Linked DNA regions of Homo sapiens: region 2 is linked to region 1. Evidence: promoter capture Hi-C in 16 types of primary human blood cells and fetal thymus (Javierre and others, 2016). All regions are on one chromosome and are shown on one strand. The core of a region is centred on a gene start or on the middle of the fragment in contact, and the rest is flanking DNA. Distances in the headings are between cores, read along the strand shown.

Evidence for each region. The method cuts DNA at HindIII sites, captures the fragments that hold promoters and counts their contacts. A CHiCAGO score of 5 or more calls a contact.
Region 2: a fragment that was not itself captured here is called in contact with the fragment with the promoter of PNO1 in region 1 in 1 of 17 cell types (neutrophils); the score reaches 6.0 in neutrophils.

What each region holds. Positions count from the first base shown.
Region 1 is chr2:68,153,997-68,160,707 of GRCh38, forward strand. It overlaps PNO1 (partner of NOB1 homolog), which reads left to right and starts at 3,892. Exons shown (of 7, transcript NM_020143.4): 1 at 3,892-4,145; 2 at 4,384-4,533. The coding sequence starts at 3,939. DNAAF10 (dynein axonemal assembly factor 10) reads right to left here and starts at 3,531. Exons shown (of 8, transcript NM_138458.4): 1 at 3,265-3,531. The coding sequence starts at 3,447. RefSeq lists enhancers at 2,774-3,706, 3,164-3,303, 3,584-3,823, 4,104-4,203. The HindIII fragment of the contact is 6,016 bases long and covers 1,468-6,711 here.
Region 2 is chr2:69,378,404-69,385,135 of GRCh38, forward strand. All of the region lies in intron 1 of GFPT1 (glutamine--fructose-6-phosphate transaminase 1), which reads right to left. Among named protein-coding and RNA genes, the nearest start is that of GFPT1, 5.5 kb to the right of the region's middle. RefSeq lists an enhancer at 3,068-3,117. The HindIII fragment of the contact is 6,399 bases long and covers 55-6,453 here.

The DNA.
Region 1 (6,711 bases), core at 2,642-5,141:
CCCGCCTCGGCCTCTCAAAGTGCAGGGATTACAGGTGTGAGCACCGCGCCCAGCCCAGTGTAAGTTCTTAAAGGTATTTTTGTATTAGTTTTACCCTCTTTTTGGACAGTAGGCTCTTTAGGAGAAAGGACTCAACTTTTAAATCTCTTCGGTCCTTGTTAAACACAGTACCTTGAAATAGTGTGTTCTCAGACAACTCATGGTAGAAAAAAAGAATATCCAAAGGATTCAGGTGAAAATATACTTCTTTTTTCTTTTTTTATTTTTTGAGACGGAGTCTTGCTCTGTCACCCACGCTGGAGTGCAGTGGCGCGATCTCGGCTCACTGCAAGCTCTGCCTCCCAGGTTGAAGCCATTCTCCTGCCTCAGCCTCCTGAGTAGCTGGGACTACAGGCGCCCGCCACCACGCCCGGCTGATTTTTTGTATTTTTAGTAGAGACGGGGTTTCACCGTGTTAGCCAGGATGATCTCGATCTCCTGACCTCATGATCCACCCGCCTCGGCCTCCCAAAGTGCTGGGATTACAGGCGTGAGCCACCACACCCGGCGTGAAAATACACTTAGTGGTTATTCCTGGCATTGAGATTATGGGTGATATTTTCTTCGTTTTCCTATTTTCTAAATGTTCTATCGTGGACACATATTATTTTTGCTACAAAAGAAAATTATCTTTTTAAAATTTGCTGAAATTCCCCAGAGTCGCTACAAAAGACAAACTACTCTATTCCACTTGATGGAGTAAGTGTACTTTTGAAATACATACAAATCATATATTTTCATTTTATTATTTTTTGAGACAGGGTCTCTCTGTCACCCAGGATGGAGTGCAGTGGTGCGAACACAGCATCCTTGACCTCCTGGGCTCAAGAGATCCTCCCACCACAGCCTCCCAAGTAGCTGGGACTACAGGCTCGCATCACTATGCCCAGCTAATTTTTGTATTTTTTTTATACAAAAAGTAGAGACGGGGTTTCCCCATGTTGCCTAGGCTGGTCTTGAACTCCTGGGCTCAAGCAATCCACCCCACTGCCTCCCAAAGTGTTGGAATTGCAGGCGTTAGCCACTGCACCAGGCCTGTTCTTATTTTAAAAAGTCACAGGTCTAAGCCCTGATCCTGCCACTGCACTCCATCGTAGGCAAGAGTGAGACCCTGTTTCAAAAAAAAAAAAAAAATTTCAATCATGTCCCATTTTTCTTCGAAAAAGGAATAAATGGCCAGGTGCAATGGCTCATGTCTGTAATCCCAGCACTTTGGGAGCCCAAGGCGGGTGGATCACCTAAGGTCAGGAGTTTGAGACCTGCCTGACCAACATGGTGAAACCCCATCTCTACTAAAAATACAAAAAAATTAGTTGGGCGTGGTAGCATGTGCCTGTAATTCCAGCTACTAGGGAGGCTGAGGCAGGAGAATCGCTTGAACCTGGGAGGCAGAGGTTGCAGTTAGCCAAGATCACGCCACTGCACTCAAGCTTGGGTGACAGAGCCAGACTCCGTCTCAAAAAAAAAAAAGAAAGAAAGAAAAGAAAAAGGAATAAATCCTTTAAATACCTTTTCTTTTTAATGGTGGCTCACACCTGATCCAGCACTTTGGGAGGGAGAGGCGGGAGGATGGTTTGAGCCCAGGAGTTCCAGGCTGCGATGAGCTATGACAGTAGCACTGCACTCCGGACTGGGACAGAGCTACGCCATCCCTAAACAACAACAACAAAAAACAAAAACAACCCAAAATGCAATGTAAAGAAATTTTACTTTGTGTAGAAATCAGGAAGGGCATCATACATTAGATAATCTGAACTGAACATTGGAATAGCAACAGGTAGCCAGGCTTGGTGGCTCACGCCTGTAATCCCAGTATTACGGGAGGCCGATGTAGGCAGACTGCTTGAGCCCAGGAGTTGGAGACCAGCCTAGGCAACACGGTGAAACCCCATCTCTACCAAAATAAAAAATAAAAAAATAAAAAGTACAAAAAAATTAGTTAGGTGTGGTGGCACACACCTGTAGTCCCAGCTACTTGGGAGGCTGAGGTGGGGAGGCGGAGGTTGCAGTGAGCTGTGTTTGCACCACAGCACTCCGGGCTGGGTGACAGATTGAGACCCTGTCTCAAAAAAAAAAAAAAAAAAAAAAAAGCCACTGGTTACCAGAAGCTAAGTGATGAACAATACAAGGAACGAAGGAAAGGTAGAAAAAAATAAGCCATGTTTCATGTTTGTCATTCAGGGAAACTTAAAGCGGGATGGGGTCTTACATACTTTCTATTCTAGGCTTAACAGTCCAAATTGTATTCATCCTTTATCTACCAGTTTAATCCCTACCTCCTCCAAGCAGATTCTCTCCATAGGTTTTGATCCCCAGAGTTAACCTACCCTGCACTTGTAGTCTATTACAACCCTGATCTGATAATGACTGATCATTTTTTCAGGTAACAAAATCAACACTTTTTAAAAACTATAAACAGCTATAAAATGCTAGTTACTATCATTATTCTCTAATTCTTTCACTAGTAATCTTCAAAAAAACCTTGCAAACCTAATCTTTCCACACCCTGCTTAAATCCTTTCAGTTGTGTCCGTTTTTTCTTAGAAAAAAGGCATAAATCCTTTGAATGTCCTACAGATCTTGCAATGTCTGGTTCCTGCTTATCCCTCTAGTTTCTTAAGGAGATAAACTTCTTCCCATCACTGAGCTTCTGCATGTGCAGAAGCCCTGGAAACCTTGTCCTTTACTCCTAGTTTGACCTAGTTAGCTTCTGCACATACCAAAATCTGTTTTCATTCATCCCAAATCTGTTTTCACTCTCATTGAACCGTAACCGTGTTCCTTTGTGTGAGACAACTCATCTCGGTTTGTATTTATGTATCGTTGCTTTGATTATTGAACTGAGTATCTCTCCCACTAGAAAATAAACTCCATGAGATGGGGGACATTACCATTCACATCCCTGGGAATACCAGGCACTCAGCTGATGCCTGTCGAATGTGTTAGGTTGCCTCTTCCAACCACACTGCAGGCATCCTGGTGCCCGCTTTGGCTGGACTGCACTGGGGGTGGCAGGACGGTTGGGCGCGGAGGAACTACCCCGCGGATGAGAAGAAAGGTTTTAAATAGGAAACATTCCTCAGTCGGCGGTCAGCTTCTCTGGTCTCGCGCGGCTCAAGCCATGCTTTGGGGGACGCTGGGCGAAGGCTCTGGCAAAGAGGAATGCAGACCCCAGGATCCGCACTCGCCCCCAACGGCAGTCCGGATCCTCGACCCGGCACCCACCTCCCGAAGCAGCTTCAGGTCCCCGTGCTGGATCTCGTACAGCTGAATGACGCCGGTGCCCCGTGCGAAGTTGCCCATGGTCACAAATTTGGCGCTGCAGGGCACCCACTTACAGTCAAACACCGTGTAGTTGAAGCCCTTCTGGATATGGGCGATGATCTGAGGCTTCTCGAAGGCCGACATGGTGCAGCCAATTTCAGCTACGGCAACCGCCACACCCAGAGCCCCCAAAAACGGCAACCTGGAAACCAGACTCCAAACATTGGCAATTTGTCCCTCCCGCTTTCCGTATTCTGCCCCAGATGCCCTGGCATGTTGGCTGTAGTTATCCCCGGATAATGCCAGATGCGCTCCTGCGATCGCACAGAATGTTCCTTCACAACAGCACGAATTTGTTTATCGCCTTTACCCACTGCCTTTCGCACACATACATACTAGAGATTACAAAATACTTGGGCTGGGAGTTGCGCGGCTGGAGTGAGCCCAAGACCATCAGGCATATCTTAGGACAGCCTAACCCCGTTTTCCCCCCCACCGGCCCCAAATCCTGCAGGTCCCCGGCCTGTGACGTTTTAGGAAAGGGGCGGAGCTGCAGGGGTGGTTGGCTGAGGCTGGCTTCTGCGTGGTGCAGCTGCGCACGTGTTTCAGCCGGCAGCGCTTTAAGATTTCCGGGGATGGAATCCGAAATGGAAACGCAGAGCGCCAGGGCAGAGGAGGGCTTTACCCAGGTCACCCGCAAGGGTGGCCGACGGGCGAAGAAACGACAGGCTGAACAGCTGTCCGCAGCAGGAGAGGGCGGGGATGCGGGCCGCATGGACACAGAGGAGGCCAGGCCGGCGAAGAGGCCCGTCTTCCCACCCCTCTGTGGGGACGGGCTCCTGGTATGTGGCTGGGACCCTAGGACAGCAACGAGGCAAGGGCCAGACGCGGATCAAGCCGATGGCCTCTGGAGAATGTTGAAGCTGCGGTGGGGCTGTTCTGCCGTGATGCTCAGAGAGAAGTGATTCTTTGAAGTGTAACTAGTTCAGTTAAAGGAGGCCCTTTGTGGATCAGATGTCATTTTAAACTCCATCACCGTCCCTCCATAGCCTTCTGAGTTGTGTGTTCTTTTATTTACAGAGTGGGAAAGAAGAAACAAGGAAAATTCCAGTCCCAGCTAACAGATACACACCATTGAAAGAAAACTGGATGAAGATATTTACTCCTATTGTGGAACATTTGGGACTTCAGATACGCTTTAACTTGAAATCAAGGAATGTAGAAATCAGGGTAAGGAAAATCTCAATCATTTCCCAATACACCAGGCTTTCTCTCCTACAGAGATGAAAAGGCATGAATAGGCTTTACTTAATGGGACTTTTCTGTTGTATGGTTTTTGTCCAGTTTAAAAATTTACCATATTGAGTTTGAACTTCCCAAATGCCTTAAAAATCTGCATTCGATACAAATATTAATTGAATTTGTAAATTAGTTCTGAGATCACACCAAAATACTGGCTCTTCTTCTGTGTATCTTTTATAATGTTCTATGTCAAATTGAGAAAAGGTCGAGTAAAGAGATTGCCATAAACAGAAGCAGGTAAATAATGAATATAAGCACTTGCTGCTTTACAAGAAGTATATACAGTCAGCGTCGGGAATATGTTCTGGGATATGTTTTGTCAGATGACTTAGTCCTTGTGCGAATATTATAGAGTGTACTTACACAAACCTAGATGGTATGTGTATATTTGTTTATATATTTTTTTCATATGGAAAACCAAATGTCCCAGCACCATTACTGAATATCAGTCATTTCATCTACTTGATCTGCATTGCCGGTATCCAGTGCCATATATCAGGTTTCTGTATATTCTCCATTATACTGTTATGAGACCACCATGGTATGAGCGGTTGGTCACTGATCAAAATGTCATTATGCAGTGCATGACTGTGTTTTAATGGTGCTCTTTTGATTAAAAAATGTATTATTTTGATAAGAAACATGCATATATATGTGTGTGTGTGTGTGTGTGTGTGTATATATATCTTTTTATTTTGCTCTTTCACCCAGGCTGGAGTGAGTGGCATGATCTTGGCTCACTGTTAACAGGTGCCTGCCACCAAACCTGGCTAATTTTTGTATTTTTAGTAGAGACTGGGTTTTAGCATGTTGGCCAGGCTAGTCTCGAACTCCTGACCTCAGGTGATCACATCTCGGCCTCCCAAAGTGCTGGGATTACAGGCGTGAGCTGCCCCACCGAGCCTATGTATATATTTTAAATTCTGTGCTATCAATCCGGGAATTAGACATTTAAATTTACTTTGGGCTTTCTTTTCTGGGTGCCAATTTCATACCAGAATCGATAACCGAAATTAATTATATTTTCCTTTTTAAGGATTCTTTTACCATCATCCGGACTGGTATAGTCTCATCTCTGTTAATGGAATATAATAATGGAACAAAGAAAGGCACTATTCTAAATAGTTGATAAAGTGTAAAATATCATAGAACATGATAGAGTAACTCCTCTTTGTCCCTGTTGCCATTCTCTCATTCAGGCTTTTATGGTTTCCTGCCAAGGAGTGGTTTCGTTGTAGGTTTCCCTTGCTTCATTGTTTGACGTCTCTCCTTTCTCCACTCATCCATCTGCCAGTGCCAGATTAAGTTTCCCAGATCACAATGCTTTTATGACATCCTGGCATCTTCAAAAAACAAAAAAAAATTTTTTTTTTTTTTTTTTTTTTGAGATAGAGTCTTGCTCCGTTGCCCAGGCTGGAGTGCAGTGTCGCAATCTCGGCTCACTGCAAGCTCCGCCTCCTGGATTCATGCCATTCTCCTGCCTCAGCCTCCTGAGTAGCTGGGACTACAGGCACCCACCACCACGCCCGGCTAATTTTTTGTATTTTTTAGTAGAGACAGGGTTTCACCGTGTTAGCCAGGATGGTCTTGATCTCCTGACCTCATGATCTACCCGCCTCTGCCTCCCAAAGTGCTGGGATTACAGGCGTGAGCATCTTCAACATTTCTAAAGGAAAAAGTTTTGGACTTAACTTGCTTTTCAAGTAGGAGACTCAGTCACAAGTTTGTCTCTCACGGATCATAAAGTTTGTTTATGTCCATACTTTTTGGTGGCTTTGGCCTTTGAAAGAGGTCCGCTCCTCCCTACTCCTTTCTCTTTATACTTCAGTTCCAGTATCTTTCCGGGTCTAGCTCAAGTTCTTTCTCTGTTATGGTATGTCCATTTTTCAGTCATATCTTCAGTGCCTAAACTTTTCATGTGCTTTATTGTCCTATTTATTGCAGGATAATCACTTTGGATTCCACTAACATTTGTTGATGCTGCCATATACCAGACACACAGTGGTATTACACCATGCTCTACATCATTTAGTCTTCAGGATATTCCCATCTTAAAGATGTGAGGAAACTTGGCCACAGTCATCAGTCTAATAAGGGAAATTTTCT
Region 2 (6,732 bases), core at 2,004-4,503, 1.2 Mb after region 1:
GCTGTATAAGCATAGATTCTCTACCCCCAAATCAGCATGCACTTCACAAGTGTAAGCTTTCTTACTAATGGAATATACTTGGAATAAAATAACTCCATAACTGAAGCAGATGCTTGAACCTACAGGCATCATTCTCAATAAATGGCAACTTAAATTCAATGACAAAAAAGCAATTATGAGCACCTTGCTAACAAAATTTCAGAAGCAATCTGGATCACAGACTAGACACACCTGGTTGAAAGCAATGTAGCTGCAAATACAGACTGTTAAACCTTACTGAAAAGAAAACTGACTCGTCAAATTATTAAAATTCCTATGTCTGGTTGCATTTATGTCCTTATGAATACTAAATTTTATTTTTATATATTTTATCATTTGACAGCTGCAATATTTTGGGACCCTAAACATTGTAACTTATCAGTGATAAGTGTTCAAATTCATTCTCTAAACTTAAAACTTCTGAATCAAAATCTACCTACAATGTCACTTAAACTCTAAATTTTATTTTTCTTATAATGCTAGTCACAAATTAATTCATCACCATCATTAAAAATTCAAAGTAGGCCAGGAGCAGTGGCTCACATCTGTAATCCCAGCACTGTGGGAAGAGAGGCAGAGGTTACTTGAGCTCAGGAGTTCGAAACCAGCCAGGGCAACATACCAAGACCCTGTCTCTATTAAAATTTGAAATAAATAAATAAATATTAAAACTATACAGATGCTACAGAATTGTGAAAATCTCTCCTTTCTGTCTCCACACAGGTTCCAACCCCTTTCTCAGAGATAACTACTGTTATTCCCATACACACACTCCCAGTCCTTCAGCTATAAATTTTTCTACAGGCCAGGCACAGTAGCAGATACCTGTAATCCCAGCACTTTCGTAGGCCAAGGCGGGAGGATCATGGGCAGGAGTTTGAGATCAGCCTGGGCAATACAGGGAGACCCTGCCTCTACCAAAAATAAAAAATTAGGCATGGTGGTGCATGCCTGTAGTCCCAGATACTTGGAAGGCTGAGGTGAGAGAATCACTTGAGCCCAGGGGTTCAAGGTTGCAGTGAACTAGTCAATATTATAATTATGGAATCACATTCTACATTTAAGATTTCTTTAAAATTAAGTATTATTTGAGATACATTTTCTTTTTTCTTTTCACCAGGGGTCTGCTCTGTCGCCCAGGCTGGAGTACAGTGGCACAATCCCAGCTCATTAAAACCACCACCTCCTGGACTCAAGTGATCCCCTCATCTCAGCCTCCCAAGTAGCTGGGACCACAGGCACATGCTAATGTGCCTGTAATTTATTTATTTATTTACTTATTTATTTTTAATTTTTGAGATGGAGTTTTGCTCTTGTCGCCAAGGCTGGAGTATAGTGATGCGATCTTGGCTCACTGCAACCTGTCTCCCAGGTTCAAGCAATTCTCCTGCCTCAGCCTCTGGAGTAGCTGGGATTACAGACGTAAGCTACCACGCCCAGTTATTTTTTTATTTCTTGTAGAAATGAGGTCTTACTACATTGCCCAGGCTGGTCTCGAACTCCTGGACTCAAGCGATCCTCTTGTTTCGGCCTCCCAAAGTGCTGGGATTACAGGCATGAGCCAATGCATCCAGCCAAGGTACATCTTCTACAATCCTAAAAGCACATATAAAGGCCAGATGCCGTGGCTCACGCCTGTAATCCCAGCAATTTGGGAGGCTGAGGAGGGTGGATCACTTGAGGTCAGGAGTTCGAGATCAGCCTGGCCAACATGGTGAAACCCCGTCTCCATTAAAAATACAAAATTCCTAGCCAGGCATGGTGACGCGTGCCTGTCCCAGCTACTCAGGAGGCTGAGGCAGAAGAATCACTTGAGCCCAGGAGGTGGGGCAGAGGGTGAAGTGGGCCGAGATTGCGCCACTGCACTCCAGGCTGGGCGACACAGTGAGACTCTGTCTCAAAAAAATAAAAAATGTAAAAGTAAAATAAAATAAATCACACATACAAAAATAACATATGGAGTGAAACAATTAAGACTTTCAATTATTTGTGTGTTTAATTGGTTCATGTCTCCCCTACTTTACTGTAACTATTGCCACTAGAAGGGGCTCCATGACACGTCTCTTGCACATTTAACATTCTGGAGCTCAAATCACTAGTTAAGTCATGACATCTCTATACATTCCCTCACAGTCAACCTATGTCATCATCTTTCTTGAGAAAAAAAAGCATGTACTTCCTGCTCACAATCTTCAAATATTCCATCTCTCTCTCTTCTGACCATTCACATCAGACTACAATTTTTCATCATACTGCCAAGTCAAACCCTCTGGGTCCACTGTGCTCTGACTCCTAGTCTCTGAGCATCTCTACACTGAACTATGACAGCCAAGGAGAACTCATCTATCCTATCCATTTCGGTCCACTTTCGGATGGGCCCTCCGAACTGCTGACCAATCCTATTAATTCATCACTTGCTTAACTTTCAAACTTCTCCCAGATATTATTTTAGAGTCTAAGCTACATACTACTCTCAAATCCTCATTTTCTCTTCCCAGCTTCTTTTTCATTTTTGGTAGATTCTTACTTTATAGAATTAAAGTCTTTTTTTTTTTTAGACAGAGTCTCGTTCTGTCACCCAGGCTGGAGGGCAGTGGCGCTATCTCAGCTCACTGCAACCTCCACCTCCTGAGTTCAAGCGATTCTCCCGCCTCAGCCTCTTGAGCAGCAGCTGGGATTACAGGCGTGTGTTACCACGCCTGGCTAATTTTTGTATTTTTAGCAGTGACAGGGTTTCACCACGCTGGCCAGGCTGGTCTCGAACTCCTGACCTCAGGTGATCTGCCCGCCTCGGCCTCCCAAAGTGCTGGGATTATAGGCGTGAGCCACTGCGCCTGGCCAGAATTAAAGTCTTCATTTTCTTTTTTTGTTTTTAAAATATAGAGACAAGGTCTCAATATGCTGTCCGGGCTGGTATCAAACTCCAAGCCTCAAGTGATCCTCCCACCTCAGCCTCCCAAAATGCTGAGTTCACAAGCATGAGTCACTGCCCCTCACCCATCTTCTTTTCAACAGTTTAACAATATATAAATACTTCTCATCCTTCCTTGTAATCTCAAGAGAGACATATTACACATACTACTCTCTGAAGCTAGCCTCTCCCCTACTTGTAACTTTTTTTTTTTTTTTTAACAGTCCTGCTCTGTCACCCAGTACCCAGGCTGGAGTGCAGCAGCACAATCATAGCTCACTGCAGCCTCAAACTCCTGGACTCAATCCTCCCACCTCAGTCTTCTAAGTAGACTGGACTACAGGTATGCACCACCATGCCTGGCTAATTTTTTTTTTTTTAATAGAGATGGGATCTCACTATGTTGCCCGGGCTGATCTTGAACTCCTAGCGTCAAGCAATCCTCCTGCCTCAGCTTCCTGAGTGGCTGGGATTACAGGTGTAAGCCAAAACACTGGCTACTTATAACTCTTTTTTTTTTTTTTAATTGAGACAGAGTGTCACTCAGTCACCCAGGCTGGGGTACAGTGGCGTGTTCTCAGCTCACTGCAACCTTCACCTCCCAGGTCCAAGCACTTCTCCTCCCTTAGCCTCCCAAGTAGCTGGGATTACAGGTGCGTACCACAACAGCTGGCTAATTTTTGTATTTTTAGTAGAGATGGGGCTTCGCTATGTTGGCCAGGCTGGTCTCAAACTCCTGACCTCAAGTGATTCGCCCACCTCAGCCTCCCAAAATGCTGGTATTACCAGAGGGAACCCCACACTGGGCCTTACTCCTAACTCTTGATGAGTGTTTCTCCAACTTTGTAAATACAGAACTCTTTTGTTAACATCAAAATATTCTGAGGCTCCTTCACAACAATGGGTTAAATTTTTATTATTCAATGATCTAGAACAATCTTTATTCAACTTACAGACAAAGTTATAAGCATATGAATAAGCAATGAACACCCTGTAACAACTTCAGGGCTTGTAGGTCAGGAACCACAGCTCTAGAATTCAACTTCTCAACACTCCCAGGGGACCTCAATCCCAAAATCCTCTTCTTTTTCATATTACTTGCAGCCCTCCTCCTAAACACAAACTGAGACCCTTCTGCCTTGACATATGCAATTTCTCTAATAATTTCTTCATAACCATATCCAATTAACTTCTCTGCAGTATTACATATGAATGACCTTTTTCTACTTTTATAGACTCTGTTCAAGGCAATATACTACTTTGGAACTCTTCTGCCTTTAACCACTGTTCCTTGGTCTGTTTTCCTGGCACTTCTATTTCCTCCTTCATCTGGTAGTAGTTCTCAAACTATTTCCGCCTCCATTCACTGACGGTTAACATATGCCATTAATGATTACCTCTCACAGTATACTAATACTCTACAAGTTGAGTAAAAGTCCTGCCCCATCACCCAGAACATTCCTGAACCTAACACAGAAACCCAAACCCCAGAGCTCTCCAGTCTCTAAATTTCTACTCATTCTACTTGTGGTCTATGACATGGCAATGAACAAGGACTGTGTATTTTCACCTGAAGCTGTTGCATGTGCATTCATTTTCTTTCCTCTGATCAGGCAGCAATTTCTTGAAGGCAACTCTCTTATTTTAGTCATCTCTGCAAAGGGCAGAGTGCCAAGTATAAAGCCATCATTTCAAATACCTGCAAGTATCTTCTAACACTTTCTAGGCACCTGAAATATACGGTCAAAAAATTCTCAAACCACAGAAACAGAACACTATTTCACCGGATGCTAAAAAGGAATGAAGTAAAGAAAGGTTTCATAATTAAAGGTTTAAGAACTACCTGGTTAAAGTTAGGTATATATTTAGAACTTTCTGGAACCTTTAATCTTGCTAATTGTGAATCTCCAAGAGCAGAATTTCCCAAACTTGTGTTACAAAACCCTTTCCCGCCTTCTACTGCTCATTACCAGAACCTATTAACCTCCATTTCCAGGGGACAATTGAAGAAATGCTTATTAAGCAATTATTTTCTCTCACAACTTCTTCATATCCAGTATATGTAAGGATATGTTAATAGTACTGGTTTTATGACCAATCCTAGCAGCCAATCTCAGCATCCCTCAATTATCTCCAAAGCCATTAGACAGTATAATTACAAAAAACTTTTGAAAAATTCATTTTAGGATACTTTAAAATTGCAAGTTCCTTTACTGCTTTTAAAAAGGATCTCATTTGCAAACATTCCATTTATTTATTTATTTATTTACTTATTTATTTATTTATTTTGAGACAGTCTCTCACTCTTGTCGCCCAGGCTGGAGTAGAATGGCACTATCTCAGCTCACTGCAACCTCCACCTCCTGGGTTCAAGAGATTCTCCTGCCTCGGGCTTCCGAGTAACTAGGATTACAGGCATGCGCCACTACGCCCGGCTAATTTTTTTGGATTTTTAGTAGAGACAGGGTTTCACCATGTTGGTCAGGCTGGTCTCAAACTCCTGACCTCAGGTGATCCACCCACCTCAGCCTCCCAAAGTGCTGGGATTGCAGGCGTGAGCCACCGCGCCCATCCCCAAAATTCCATTTTATATACACCGTCGAATCAGAAGGGTATAACTTCACATTTATAAAAACAATAGCAAAATCTGTTAAAAGCTAGGGATAGCTTAAGTGACTTGACACTCAGCAAAACCAAAAATAATGCAAATAAAAAGGACAAAGTATATTCCAAACTACCAAGAAAAAGGAAGATAAAATAAATTTGGAAAATAGACACACTATTCTTCTCTGGGAGATTCTCAATGCTTATTATTAATACATTAAAGATTCCAAGAAATCCTCCAATCAAAAAACAAAACAAAACATTACCACGCGATTTAATATGTTGCTTCCCAAATTTACTGGACCAGAGGATCTTTTTTCCTAACACTTATTAACATCCCAATACAAGCTGGTAAACATATCAATTTTATCAGTATATCTGATTGAAAAAAAGCACATCAGAATCTTCAATCCTCATTCTTCTGCTTCAACAATGCACAACGTTGAAATAAAATAATCTTTTAGGCAAATTTAACTAGGGCCGGGTAAGGTGGCTCACTCCTGTAATCCCAGCACTTTGGGAGGCTGTGGTAGGTGGATTACCTGAGGTCAGCAGACCAGTCTGGTCAACATGGTGAAACCCCACCTCTACCAAAAATGCAAAAATTAGCCAGGTGTGGTGGTACACCCCTGTAATCCCAGCTACTCGGGAGGTTGAACCCCGGAGACAGAGGCTGCAGTGAGCCAAGATCATGCCGCTGCACTCCAGCCTGGGCGACAGAGAGAGGCCCCGTCACAAAAAAAAAAAAAAAAAAAGAAAAAAGAAAGAAAGAAAAGAAAGAAGAGAAAGAAAGAAAGAGAGAGAAAGAAGAAAGAAAGAAAAAGAAAGAAAGAAAGAAAAGAAAAGAAAGAAGGAAAGAAAGAGAAAAACTTAACTAGATAGCAAGTAATCAGAAAGTAAGCTTCCAGATTTTCCCATCTAGTCTAATTTTCACTCCATTTCTCTGCTCAGGAATTTTAGTTCAATGACTAAGATGTGGGAGGAAAATAATGACACTCATCTTCTTATCTTTCAGAATTTACATTAGAGAGAAAATAAATTCTGAACCCTATCCCTAGAATCAGGCAAAACCGTGGTATGACTTAAAAGCAGGACCTCAGAAATGCCTCAAATATTCACTTTTTATTTCTTCAATACCTGTTTCCTCAGCCGTAAAACTCTATGGAATGGAGACACAA